Linked DNA regions of Homo sapiens: region 2 is linked to region 1. Evidence: promoter capture Hi-C in human tissues and cell types (Jung and others, 2019). All regions are on one chromosome and are shown on one strand. The core of a region is centred on a gene start or on the middle of the fragment in contact, and the rest is flanking DNA. Distances in the headings are between cores, read along the strand shown.

Region 1 (5,866 bases), core at 2,343-4,842:
CAAAAGAGTCTAGTAGGATCTGGTCTGTTCATACATTCCATCAAATCCTCTGTTCTTCCTAGTCCAAGAGGATATGTCTTTTAATTTCCAAACAAATATTTCTGAAGCCTTGCTTAAGTTGGGGAATTGCCATCTTCTCCAACATCACCATGCAGACACTTAAAAATGTTTTCAAAAGTGAAACCATGAGGTAAATCTAATGACCCTCTAAAACATTATGACAGGTAAAATAATCCAGACACAAAAGACGACGTATCATATGATTCCATTTATATGAAAAGCCCAAGAAAGGCAAATCCATAGAGACAGAGAGTAGATTAGAGGGTCATGGGGCTGGAAATGGGATAGGCATATAATGTAAATGGGCATAAAAGATCGTATTGGGATGATGGAAATGTGCTAAAACAGGATTGCGGGGATGGTTGTACAACTCAGTTGCCAAAAATCATTAAATTTTAAACAGGTGAATTTTACTATATGTAATTATATCTCAATAAAGTTGATTTTTAAAAAAGAAATCTAGCTAGGTCACAAGCATTTTTTTTTTTTTTTAGATGGAGTCTCGCTCTGACACCCAGGCTGGAGTGCAGTGGTGCAATCTTGGTTCACTGCAACCTCCACCTCCTGGGTTCAAGCGATTCTCCTGCCTCAGCCTCCCAAGTAGCTGGGACTACAGGTGTGTGTCAACACACCTGGCTAATTTCTGTATTTTTGGGAGAGACAGGGTTTCACCATGTTGGCCAGGCTGGTCTTGAACTCCTGACCTCAGGTGATCCACCTGCCTCGGCCTCCCAACGTGCTGGGATTACAGGCGTGATTCACGATGCCAGGTGGGTCACAAGCATTTTTAAATCATTTATTAGTCATGTAAAACATTTTATACTTAAAATGAACTATAGCACATCAACTTGAGATTTCACAGTAGTGATATAAACTTTTCGAATAACTTTCTAAGTAAAAAGATGAATTAATTTAAACCATTGCTTTAAATCATTTTAATTTACATAATTAATTTAAGTAACAATTATTATACAAACCAGAAGTTTTGGTGAATGCTAGTTAGGTTATTGGTTCCCAAGTGATAAAACCCCAGCTCTGTGTGTGTGTGTGTGTGTGTGTGTGTGTGTGTGTATTTTAACCTCAAGATCAATAATAAATATTAAATGGGATTATGTTGATTAAAATGCTTTGTAAATTTCCAGTGCTGTACTAACAAAAGAAAACGAATGGCTTACCTAAGGTGCCTTCTATTTTAATACAAAAGAAATTCTTACAAGTTTATGACAGACAAGAGACTCTCCAGGTGGGGCAGGAGTTAATTTAACCAGTAGTGCTGCCTCCCTTTTCTAGGGTTTCAATTTCTTCCTTCAACAAACATTATTGAATGCCTACCATGAATCCACTAGGTGCAGGTCCATGTTCTGGATCCTTAAGAGATGCACAGTTGTCTTATTCCTCCTCTTCCTCCAAGTTAAGATGCTTTACTATGAAACCTCTACTGGACTGAGGTGCAGCACCCCCAAGCCCTTTCCTGGTTGCACTTGACAAAAATATTGAGGGAGGAAAAAACCCCCACAAGAGTACAGTCAAGTTTTTAAAATTACAGAATTACAAAATAGAAGATTGGGATTGGGAAAGAAAAAAGAAATCATGCTCCCCGGTTCCCACCTAGATTTGAGTTCCTAAAATCCTGCCTCTCGCACCCCTTTTTCTTTCTAAGGAAGCTAGTATCTCCCACCTTCTCAAGAAAACAGTGAGTGCTCCATTACATTTAAATCCCATCCCCAGATGAAGGAAGCAGTCATTATCTTCTAAGTTCTCAGCCCCATGAAAACCACCATGAAAATACCAATCCCCGTATTTTCAAGAATAGTTGTCAGCAAAGTGTTGCCGCAGGAGAATACTGTCTGAAGGCAGGGAACCTAAGGCAGATTCACACTGATTTCCTAGAACTAAATCAAATGGAAAACCCCGGCCGGGCGCGGTGGCTCACGCCTGTAATCCCAGCACTTTGGGAGGCCAAGGCGGGCGGATGACGAGGTCAGGAGATCAAGACCATCCTGGCTAACAGGGTGAAACCCCGTCTCTACTAAAAATACAAAAACAAAATTAGCCGGGCGTGGTGGCAGGCTCCTGTAGTCCCAGCTACTCGGGAGGCTGAGGCAGGAGAATGGCGTGAACCTGGCAGGCGGAGCTTGCAGTGAGCCCAGATCGCGCCACTGCACTCCAGCCTGGGCGACAGAGCAAGACTCCGTCTCAAAAAAAAAAAAAAAAAAGGAAAACCCCAACTTTCCACACCTAAGTAACAAAAGAACCAGACGTTACTCCCTTTGCAACCCCCTCCCCACTACACAACCACACACACACACACACACACACACACACACACTTTAGCCGTGTGGCAGATGTGAAATTGAAAGTATCTCTGATTCGTTGCTTTCTGCAACCAATCAGACGCTTGCATAGGAGTGTAACTTTGTAACTTCACTTTAGCCTCTGATTGGTTGCTTTCCACAACCAATCAGACTGATTGTGGAGCCACTACTTCATTTACATAGGGTGTACACCATGTAACCAATGGGAAACCTCTAGAGGGTATTTAAACCCCCGAAAATTCTGCAAAAGGAGTCTTGAGCTGGTATTACCTTTTCGTTTTCAATAAATCTCTGCCTTTATTCCTTCATTCTTTCCTTAGTTTGTGCGTTGTGTCCAGTTCTTTGTTCAAAACGCCAAGAACGTGAATACTCTCCACCGGTAACTGTTATTGTTGTTAGTAATAGTGGTATTACAATTTTGACGTTAGTTTGGCTAATTAATAAATCTAGGGATATTTTGCAATATCTAGATGTTCTCGCAAGTTTTCTATATGTAGCTATCAGCCAACGTTACAAAGGCCGTGAAAAAAAAATGATCAGAGCATGGCCCATATCGTCGTGCCTCTTGTGTACACATTGGTTTCACGTAGTTTTGTTTCATCTTCTGCCAATTCTAAAAGGGTATGCAAGGCAAGATACCATAACCTATATAAACTTACATGACCTGTATAAAGGACGTGCCTAAGAAGACAACATGCTAGCTGATGACAGATCCTGAACAGACACCTGTTCTGGATGACCTAAGTGAGTTTCTCCTTTTATTTCAAATTTCTTAGAAAGAATCACCCTTGGGGCACGTAAGAACTGGCTCAAATGGGAGTGCCTGACGCGGGGTGGGGGGCTGGGGGCGGGGTAGGTGGTGGCCGTGAGAAGGTAGCCGTGAGAAGGTGGGAGAGGAAGGGGTGGTTAAACTATTAGGGATGCAGGCTTTGGCACCACTACGAAGCCAGGGTTTTCTTTGTGTTTTAACTGTCAGATTGAGAGTAGCTCTGTTGTAGCCCCTTTGCAGGGTTCCCATGAGACTTTTCCTAGGTAGTTACGTTGACTCGCTTAGCAACATAGCAAATTACAGAAACGGAGTAAGAACGTAAGAAATCGCAAAGCACGTGACGTATGGGATCTCACTGTTCTTGGCCCTTCTCCCGACCCGTAGCCCTGCTCTGCTACGACTGCGTGGGTGAGTCGTCTATAAAAACTCATCTCTGCGCGTCTCTTCGCCACATTCGCTTCCTGCTTTCGGTGTGTCTGTTGTGTCTTGTTGCGGGCACCGCAGTCGCCGTGAAGATGGCGTCTACCAGCCGGTTAGTATGTCCCGCCGAGCCCGGCGAGCTGAGGGGCGGGCGCGAGCGCCGCCGGCTTTTAGGCGGCCTCCGGGCAGCCTCGTAGGGCTGAGCGCCTAGGGGTATGGGAGAGAAGCGGCGGGACTGGCCGACGGGCCGGGACAAAGGCACTTCCAGACGGCAGGACTGTCAGGGTGTCGCAGGGGTTACCGAGCTGTTGACGTTATTGCCCTGGAGTCTTATGTAGATATCACCCTATGTGGGTCCTGGTGGGCTACTGTGTCCCCAGTCCTTGCCCTCGTATCTTTTCCCAATATTTCAATCTCCCTTTATTTTCTCTTCTTCCCACCCTCCCTCCTCTCCTCCCCCGCGCCCCCCCCCCCGCTTGTTTTTTTCATCTACGGCCCAAACAACCCGAGGGTCCGTAATTTCTCCTTTTCAAAGGAACGGGAAACAGTTAGTTTCAGGTTCCTATCGATCTGACAGCTAGGAAGTTGGGAACGTCAGCATTGGTAAGCCAGATGGAACCTGGTTGGTTACCATCACAGCGGGCCTCGGAAGTGGAAGCTAGAGCCATCGGAAGAGTTGATTAGTTCCCTGCTAAAGGATTTGTTTACAAATATCGTTGCCTGTGTACTTCTGAAGAAAATCTTGCCAAAGAAAATTAGTTATATGTGCTGGGAGGTCGCTTTTTAGTATATATTTAAGAATGCAGTGTACTCATATCTACAGGAAATGCATGCAGTACCCTCAGAAACAGCCTTTAATCTTGTGACCTGAAAAATGCTTGCAGACCCTAATTATGTCTCTCATTACCACTGTGAGGTAGATATTAGTATTTTTGCATAAGTGTAAACTGAGTCATGCCAATGTTGACTTTTCCAAGAGTCGTGTTAGAGTGTAGAGTCTAAGACAACCTGTTTCCTGTTATCCACACCTGGCCTTTGGTTAACTAATCCTGTGTTGAAAGTATCAAATTAATTCTACAGCTTCTGGAACTCTGGCACTATTTTTCTGACCCTGCTATCATCTGTGGAATTGGTTAATTTCACAGTGAAAGCCATTTTTACAAAATAGCCTTTTCTGGTAACTGCCAAGACTTACATTTTATGATTAGAAAAGGAATTTGGGGTGGGAGGCAGCTTTAGCTAATATACTGTTTGAACAGAACTCATAAAGCCAGTGACACTCTTGTTTACTGATTCTGATTCTTGGATTGGATGCTCAGTCATTCTATCTGGGTGTTGTTCTGTCGGGTAAGGCCTCCTTGTAGGTAAATGGAAAACTTGGGCTCCCCAGATCACTCAAATACGACTTAAAATTCTACCATGGCTTTTTTTTTTTTTAATTCTATCATGGCTTTTTAAGTCTGAAATTTTTTTCTAGATATGTGCAATTTATGTATCATAGCAGTTATTGCTCAAGTTTTTCTATCAGTGACAACAAAGAAAGTTAAATGCAGTATTTTTTATTTTATGGAACAGGCCTGGGCTGAAGTGTAGGTGGCACGATCATGGCTCACTGCAGCCATGACCTCCCCAGTTCAAGTGATCCTCCCACCTCAGCCTTCTGAGTAGCTGGGACCATAGGTACACACCACGTGCCTGGCTAATTTTTTTATTTTTAAATTTTATTAATTTTTATTTTTGTGGAGACAAGGCCTAGTTACATTGCCCAGGCTGGTCCTGAACTCCTGGGTCCAAGCAGTCCTCCGGCTTTGGCCTACCAAAGTGCTGTGGTAACAGGCATGAGCCACTGCGCCCAGCCTAAATATAATATTTCTACCTTTTGCATGTTTTTCCCTCAGGAAGGTGTATTGTCACTAGGCCATGAAACTGGCTGGTGTCCTCACAGAGGAGTACAAATGTTCTGAGTTCAAATGTAAGCTCCGCCACTTATTAGTTCCATGACTTCAGGCAAATCATTCTCTGAGCATAATTTTTTAAATGTGAAATAGTGCCTTTCTTGCAGGATTGTTGTGGAGATTGACAATAATAAATGTATAACACAAGTAATACAGTCCATGCCCAATAAATGATAGCTATAAAATGGGGTTTGGGATTATCTGGTACTTGAGTAGTCTCGAATCGTTTTAATGTCAGTGGTGGTGGTTTCTCTATTCCTCCCTATTGTTTCTCTCTGTTACCACCTTCACCACCCCATTTGTATGGTTCCTCTTCTGTATTGTGGGTAATTTGATTAAGTTTACTA
Region 2 (5,866 bases), core at 1,996-4,495, 500 kb after region 1:
CTTATATTTTTCTAGCCTACGAAAACTGCTAAGCCCTTTGGAGGTCCCTGCTGGTAGAATACCTATCTAATGTGTGATATGGGGCCCAATGCAATGATTCTTGAATGGTTTTCAAACTGGTTTTGAGGAGCTAGTGGGCCACTTTATAACAAGAAGAAGCATTTAGAATCCTGACATTTAAAATTCTGCCCCCCAGTGTGCAAACAATACAAGAAGAAAAGCTGTGCCCTAGTTGGGCTTCTGCTGTGCTAATTACAGAAATGTAAAGCCCAGCTGTGGTCAGACCAGCTTATCAAGGAGAGATGTGTTAGACCAAGAGAGCAAAAGAAGGACCGAGATGTTTTTACATTTAATATGAGCGAAAATACTTTTAGACTAGTGTATGACCATGTGACTGGAGCTCAACAGCTAAGCTAAGGTTTCTTTAGCCCTTCTATATACAAATTAATAATGATATATAAACCCATTCTGTTTAAAAACTAAAGGTTCTTGACACCTGTTCCAAATCCATAACAACCCTCCTCTACCCCACAAGGAAATCAAATCAACAAAACCACACCAAATAGGCAAATTTTAACTAAGGAAGTTTTATTTAAATTTTTTAAAATTTTCTATAAGTTATTGGGGTACAGGTGGTATTTGGTTACATGAGTAAGTTCTTTAGTGGTGATTTGTGAGATTTTGGTGCACCCATCACCTGAGCAGTACACATTGCACCATATTTGTAGTCTTTTATCCCTCGCCTGACCTCCCACTCTTCCCCATAAGTCCCTGAAGTCCACTGTATCATTCTTGTGCCTTTGTGTCCTCAGAGCTTAGCTCCCACATATCAGTGAGAACATATGATGCTTGATTTTCCATTCCTGAGTTACTTCACTTAGAATAATAGGCTCCAACCTCATCCAGGTCACTGCAAATGCTGTTAATTCATTCCTTTTTATGGCTGTGTAGTATTCCATCATATGTATGTGTCTATCTATCTACACACACACACACACACACACACACACCACAGTTTCTTTATCCACTGGTCGATTGTTGGGCGTTTGGATTGGTTCCACGATTTTGCAGTTGTGAATTGTGCTGCTATAAAATGAGTGTGCAGGTGTCTTTTTCAGATAACGGCTTCTTTTCCTCTGGGTAGATACCCAGTAGTGGGATTACTGGATCAAATGGTAGTTCTACTTTTAGTTCTTTAAGGAATCTCCACACTGTTTTCCCTAGTGGCTGTACTAGTTTACATTCCCACCAGTGGTATAGAAGTGTTTCCTGATCACCGCATCCATGCCAACATTTACTGTTTTTTGATTTTTTGATTATGGCCATTCTTGCAGGAGTAAGGTGGTATCGCATTGTGGTTTTTATTTGCATCTCCCTGATCATTAGTGATGTTGAGCATTTTTTCGTACGATTATTGGCCATTTGTATATCTTCTTTTGAGAATTGTTTATTCATGTCCTTAGCCTACTTTTTGATGGGATTGTTTTTTTCTTAGTGATTTGTTTGAGTTCATTGTAGATTCTGGATATTAGTCCTTTGTCGGATGTATAGATTGTGAAGATTTTCTCCCACTCTGTGGGTTGTCTGTTTACTCTGCTGACTGTTCCTTTTGCCATGCAAAAGCTCCTTAATTAGGTCCCAGCCATTTATCTTTGTTTTTATTACATTTGCTTTTGGGTTCTTGGTCATAAAATCCTTGCCTAAGCCAACGTCTAGGATTTTTCTGATGTTATCTTCTAGAACTTTTATAGTTTCAGGTCTTAGGTTTAAGTCTTTAATCATCTTGAGTTGATTTTTGTATAAGGTGAGAGATGAGGATCTAGTTTCATTCCTGTACATGTGGCTAGCCAATTATCCCAGCACCATTTGTTGAATAGGGTGTCCTTTCCCTACTTTATGTTTTTGTTTGCTTTGTCAAAGATCAGTTGGCTGTATTTGGGTTTATTTCTGGGTTCTCTATTCTGTTCCATTGGTCTATGTGCCTATTTCTATGCCAATACAATGCTGTTTTTATGACTATGGCCTTATAGTATAGTTTGAAATCAGGTAGTGTGATGCCTCCAGATTTGTTCTTTTTGCTTAGTCTTGCTTTGGCTATGCGGGTTCTTTTTTGGTGTCATGTGAATTTGCTTTTTCTAATTTTGTGAAGAATGATGGTGGTATTTTAATGGGGATTGTGTTTAATCTGTAGATTGCTTTTGGCAGTATGGTCATTTTCACAATATTGAATCTACCCATCCATGAGCATGGTATGTGTTTCCATTTGTTTGTGTCATCTATGATTTCTTTCAGCAGTTTTAGGAAGTTTTAATTTCAGTTCAACAGAAGAACCTAATGTAATTTAAATATATTTTATTACACCTCAATATTTCTTTCGTGCTTGCTTTTCCTGGAAATCTAAGTCCAGATTTGAACCACAAGTAGACTTTGCTGTAGCCATATGCTGGTTTTTCATTAATGTAGGAAATATGAGGCCGGGCGCAGTGGCTTATGTTGTAATCCCAGCACTTTGGGTGGCTGAGATGGGAGGATAACTTGAGATCAGGAGTTCAAGACCAGCCTGGCCAACATGGTGAAACCCCGTCTCTACTAAAAATACAAAAATCAGCTGGGTGTGGTTGGCAGGTGCCTGTAATTCCAGCTACTCAGGAAGCTGAAGAAGGAGAAACGCTTGAACCTGAGAGGCAGAGGTTGCAGTGAGCTGAGATCACACCACTGCACTCCAGCCTGGGTGACAGAGGGAAACTCTGTCTCAAAAAAATAAAGAAAAATTTTGGGTGGCATTGGTAGACATATATTGGCCAGTGCAAACATTTTTAACTGACTAGAAATTTTACCAGATTCCAAAATATTGAAAAGTACTTAGAAAACCATTTATGCTCCTGTTGTTTGCTTTTCTCATTTACAAAGTGCGAAATAATGGTACAGTAGAACTTTATTGTAGTGATGTTATATTATTGTCTGGGAATGGCAATATCAGTTATAAGCTTTTTGTATCAAGGACATATAGGCTAGGCATTACTATAGATAATATGAATAATAATGATCATAGCTATTTATTGAAATTATCGTAAATGCCTTAAATGGCAAGGTAAGTCTTATTTACTTATGAGGAAGAGGTGATTACCATATGTGGCTTTGCAGGGTGTGCACCGCATAAATTGTAAGGAGCATTATTCACAGTGGTGGTTATAAATGTGGTTGTGTGTGCATGTGTGGGTATCTGTGGTTTGAGTTTGTCTCCACCAAAACCTATGTTGAAACTTTATCCCCAGTGTGGTGCTGCTGGGAGGTGAGACCTAATGGAATCCCTCACGAATGGCTTAGTGCTGTTCTCACGGTAGTCAGTGAGTTCTCACTCTGGTGAGGCTGAATTAGTTCTCAAGGGAATGGATTAGATCTGATCAGAGTGAGTTGTTACAAAGCCAGGATGTCCCTCAGATTTTGCCTCTTTGCACATGTCTGCTTGCCCTTTGATTTTCCCCACCATCTTATGATTCAGCATGAAAGCCCTGGCTGGAAGCTCAGCCATGCCCTTGAATTTCCCAGCCTGAAGAACCATAAGCTAATTAATCCTCTTTTCTTTATAAATTACCCACCCTTAGGTATTCTGTTATTTAATAGCAACACTAAATGGACGAAGACAAAAAATTGGTACCGAGGAATGGGGCTCTTGCTATACAGATATCTGAAAATGTGGAAGAGGCCTTGAAACTGGGATATGGACAGAGGTTGGAAGAGTTTGGAGGACGAGGCTAGAAAGAGACTACTGCAGTGACAGTGAATGAAGCAGTAAGGGCGATTCTGGTGAAGGCTCAGAAGAAGACAGAAAGACAAGGGAAAGTTTGGTTGTCATGACCAAAATGCAGATAGAAGTATGGACAATAAAGGCCAATCTGATGAGCTTCAGATGGAAATGAGGAGTATTTATTTGTACACTGGAGCAAAGCTCACCCTTGCTGTAAAGTAGCAAAGAGCTTGGCAGACCTGTGTTCATACCCTGGGGCTTTATGGAAGGCCAAACATAGAGTTATGACTTAAGAATATCTGGCAGAAGAAGTTTCTAAGTAGCAAAGCACTCAAGAACTGGCATGGTTACTTTTAGCAGCTTATGCTCAGCTATAACAGTAAAGGAATGACTTAAAATCAAAACTTATAATTAAAAAAGAAACAGAGCGGCTGGGCGCGGTGGTTCACACCTATAATCCCAGCACTTTGGGAGGCCAAGGTGGGCAGATCACCTGAGGTAAGGAGTTCAAGACCAGCCTGACCAACATAGAGAAACCCTGTCTCTACTAAAAATACAAAATTAGCCAGGCGTGGTGGCGCATGCCTGTAATCCAAGCTACTCGGGAGGCTGAGGCAGGAGAATCAGTTGAACCCGGGAGGCAGGGGTTGCAGTGGGCCGAGATCGCGCCATTGCACTCCAGCCTGGGCAACAAGAGCGAAACTCTGTCTCAAAAAACAAAAACAAAACAGACAAAAAGAAACGGAGCATAAAAGTTACACTGGTCGTCAGTGTACTAGTAGTATACTGGCCAAATTTGGCCAGGTAGAACCTTGAATTTTCATAACAATTATGGAAACTTAGAAGGCTACAGCAATATTCATTAAATATAATAACTGAATATATATTTTAAATGTTGTTCGTAAAGCAGGCTTTTAATATCAATCAGGGTGGGCCTCAGGATTTATGAGAAATTAATTGATGAACACACAAAGGTAAATGTTGAGAAAATTGCAGGAAGGGAGGTGTCATTGATCCATGACTCCTTTCTTCCCTATTTACAAAGCTTAGTGTACCCGGTTGGCTAGCCGACAGTTCACATTTTAGGGAAAAAGATTATTGAGAAGTAGATAATGAGGATAAAAGAGAGGTTTGGGTTAAATCAGGGAAGTAATAAGCTTTTGGATGCCAGAGGGACAGTTCGAGGCCATTAAACATACTGTACATCTTAAGGAAAACTAAGCTTGCTTCACAATTTGAGTTTTCTCACCTTCTGAAATGTGTCTCATGAAGAGTAAGCTTCCTAATTCTGACCGTATAAGATTAATTCACCATTTCAATTGAGTGTGTTGCGCTCAATAAGCAAGTGTTGAATACTATTAATATTCAGAGTAACGTGTTTCATGCTGGGGGATTCAATAATATGCAATAATAATAATATTTGTAGAGCATTCTAAAGTTTGCACATTCATTTCTCAGACCTCTTCTCATTTAAAATCTTGGAAAGCAGGTATAATGGCTACCCCATTAACAGAGAAGAAAACAGACTCAGTGACTTGCCTAAATTTTAGAATATAACAAGTGTCAGATTTGGGAATCAAACTCAAGTCTTCCAACTTTGGGATCCATCTTATTTCCAGTATATCAGATTCTCTGCCCTAAACAGCCACATTAAAGTGAGAGAAACATAAATAGCCTCAAATGTGGGAAGAGTGTAATTGAAAAATAAATGTCATCTTAGTAACATTGTTTTCCCCCCAAATTATAGCAGTAAACAGGAGATTACAGTGCCTGATTGCGTTACATATTCTGATAGCATGACTTTTATATTTTAGGAGCAGTGTATCTTGCCTTTTATAAGTCTAGGTCCTGTTTTTCTCAGTATGTTTTCAGAAACCATATAGTTGAATTATGTTAGTTTTATATACTTGGAAATTAGACCTCTTATTCTTTCTCATGAATACATAGACTGCTTTTCTCAACAAACATAGTGCTTAAAGAAAGCCTGCAGTAAATTCCTTTTGACCTTTTCAATCCATTTTCATGGATGATGTCTCTGGTAGTATATTAGACTTTTTGGCTTGTCTGCATTTTGATTCAAGTTTTGTTGATTGTCTTAAATTGATAAAGCCTATTAAA

Evidence for each region. Contacts are between HindIII fragments. The study calls those that stand out against the background at their distance.
Region 2: a contact is called between a fragment that was not itself captured here and the fragment with the promoter of GTF2B in region 1, in 1 of the 25 tissues and cell types used here (mesenchymal stem cells).

The regions. Positions count from the first base shown.
Region 1 is chr1:88,889,293-88,895,158 of GRCh38, reverse strand. It overlaps GTF2B (general transcription factor IIB), which reads left to right and starts at 3,592. Exons shown (of 7, transcript NM_001514.6): 1 at 3,592-3,676. The coding sequence starts at 3,660. RefSeq lists an enhancer at 3,307-3,416. The HindIII fragment of the contact is 18,960 bases long and covers 1-5,866 here.
Region 2 is chr1:88,389,514-88,395,379 of GRCh38, reverse strand. No RefSeq gene overlaps it. Among named protein-coding and RNA genes, the nearest start is that of PKN2, 290 kb to the left of the region's middle. The HindIII fragment of the contact is 6,292 bases long and covers 100-5,866 here.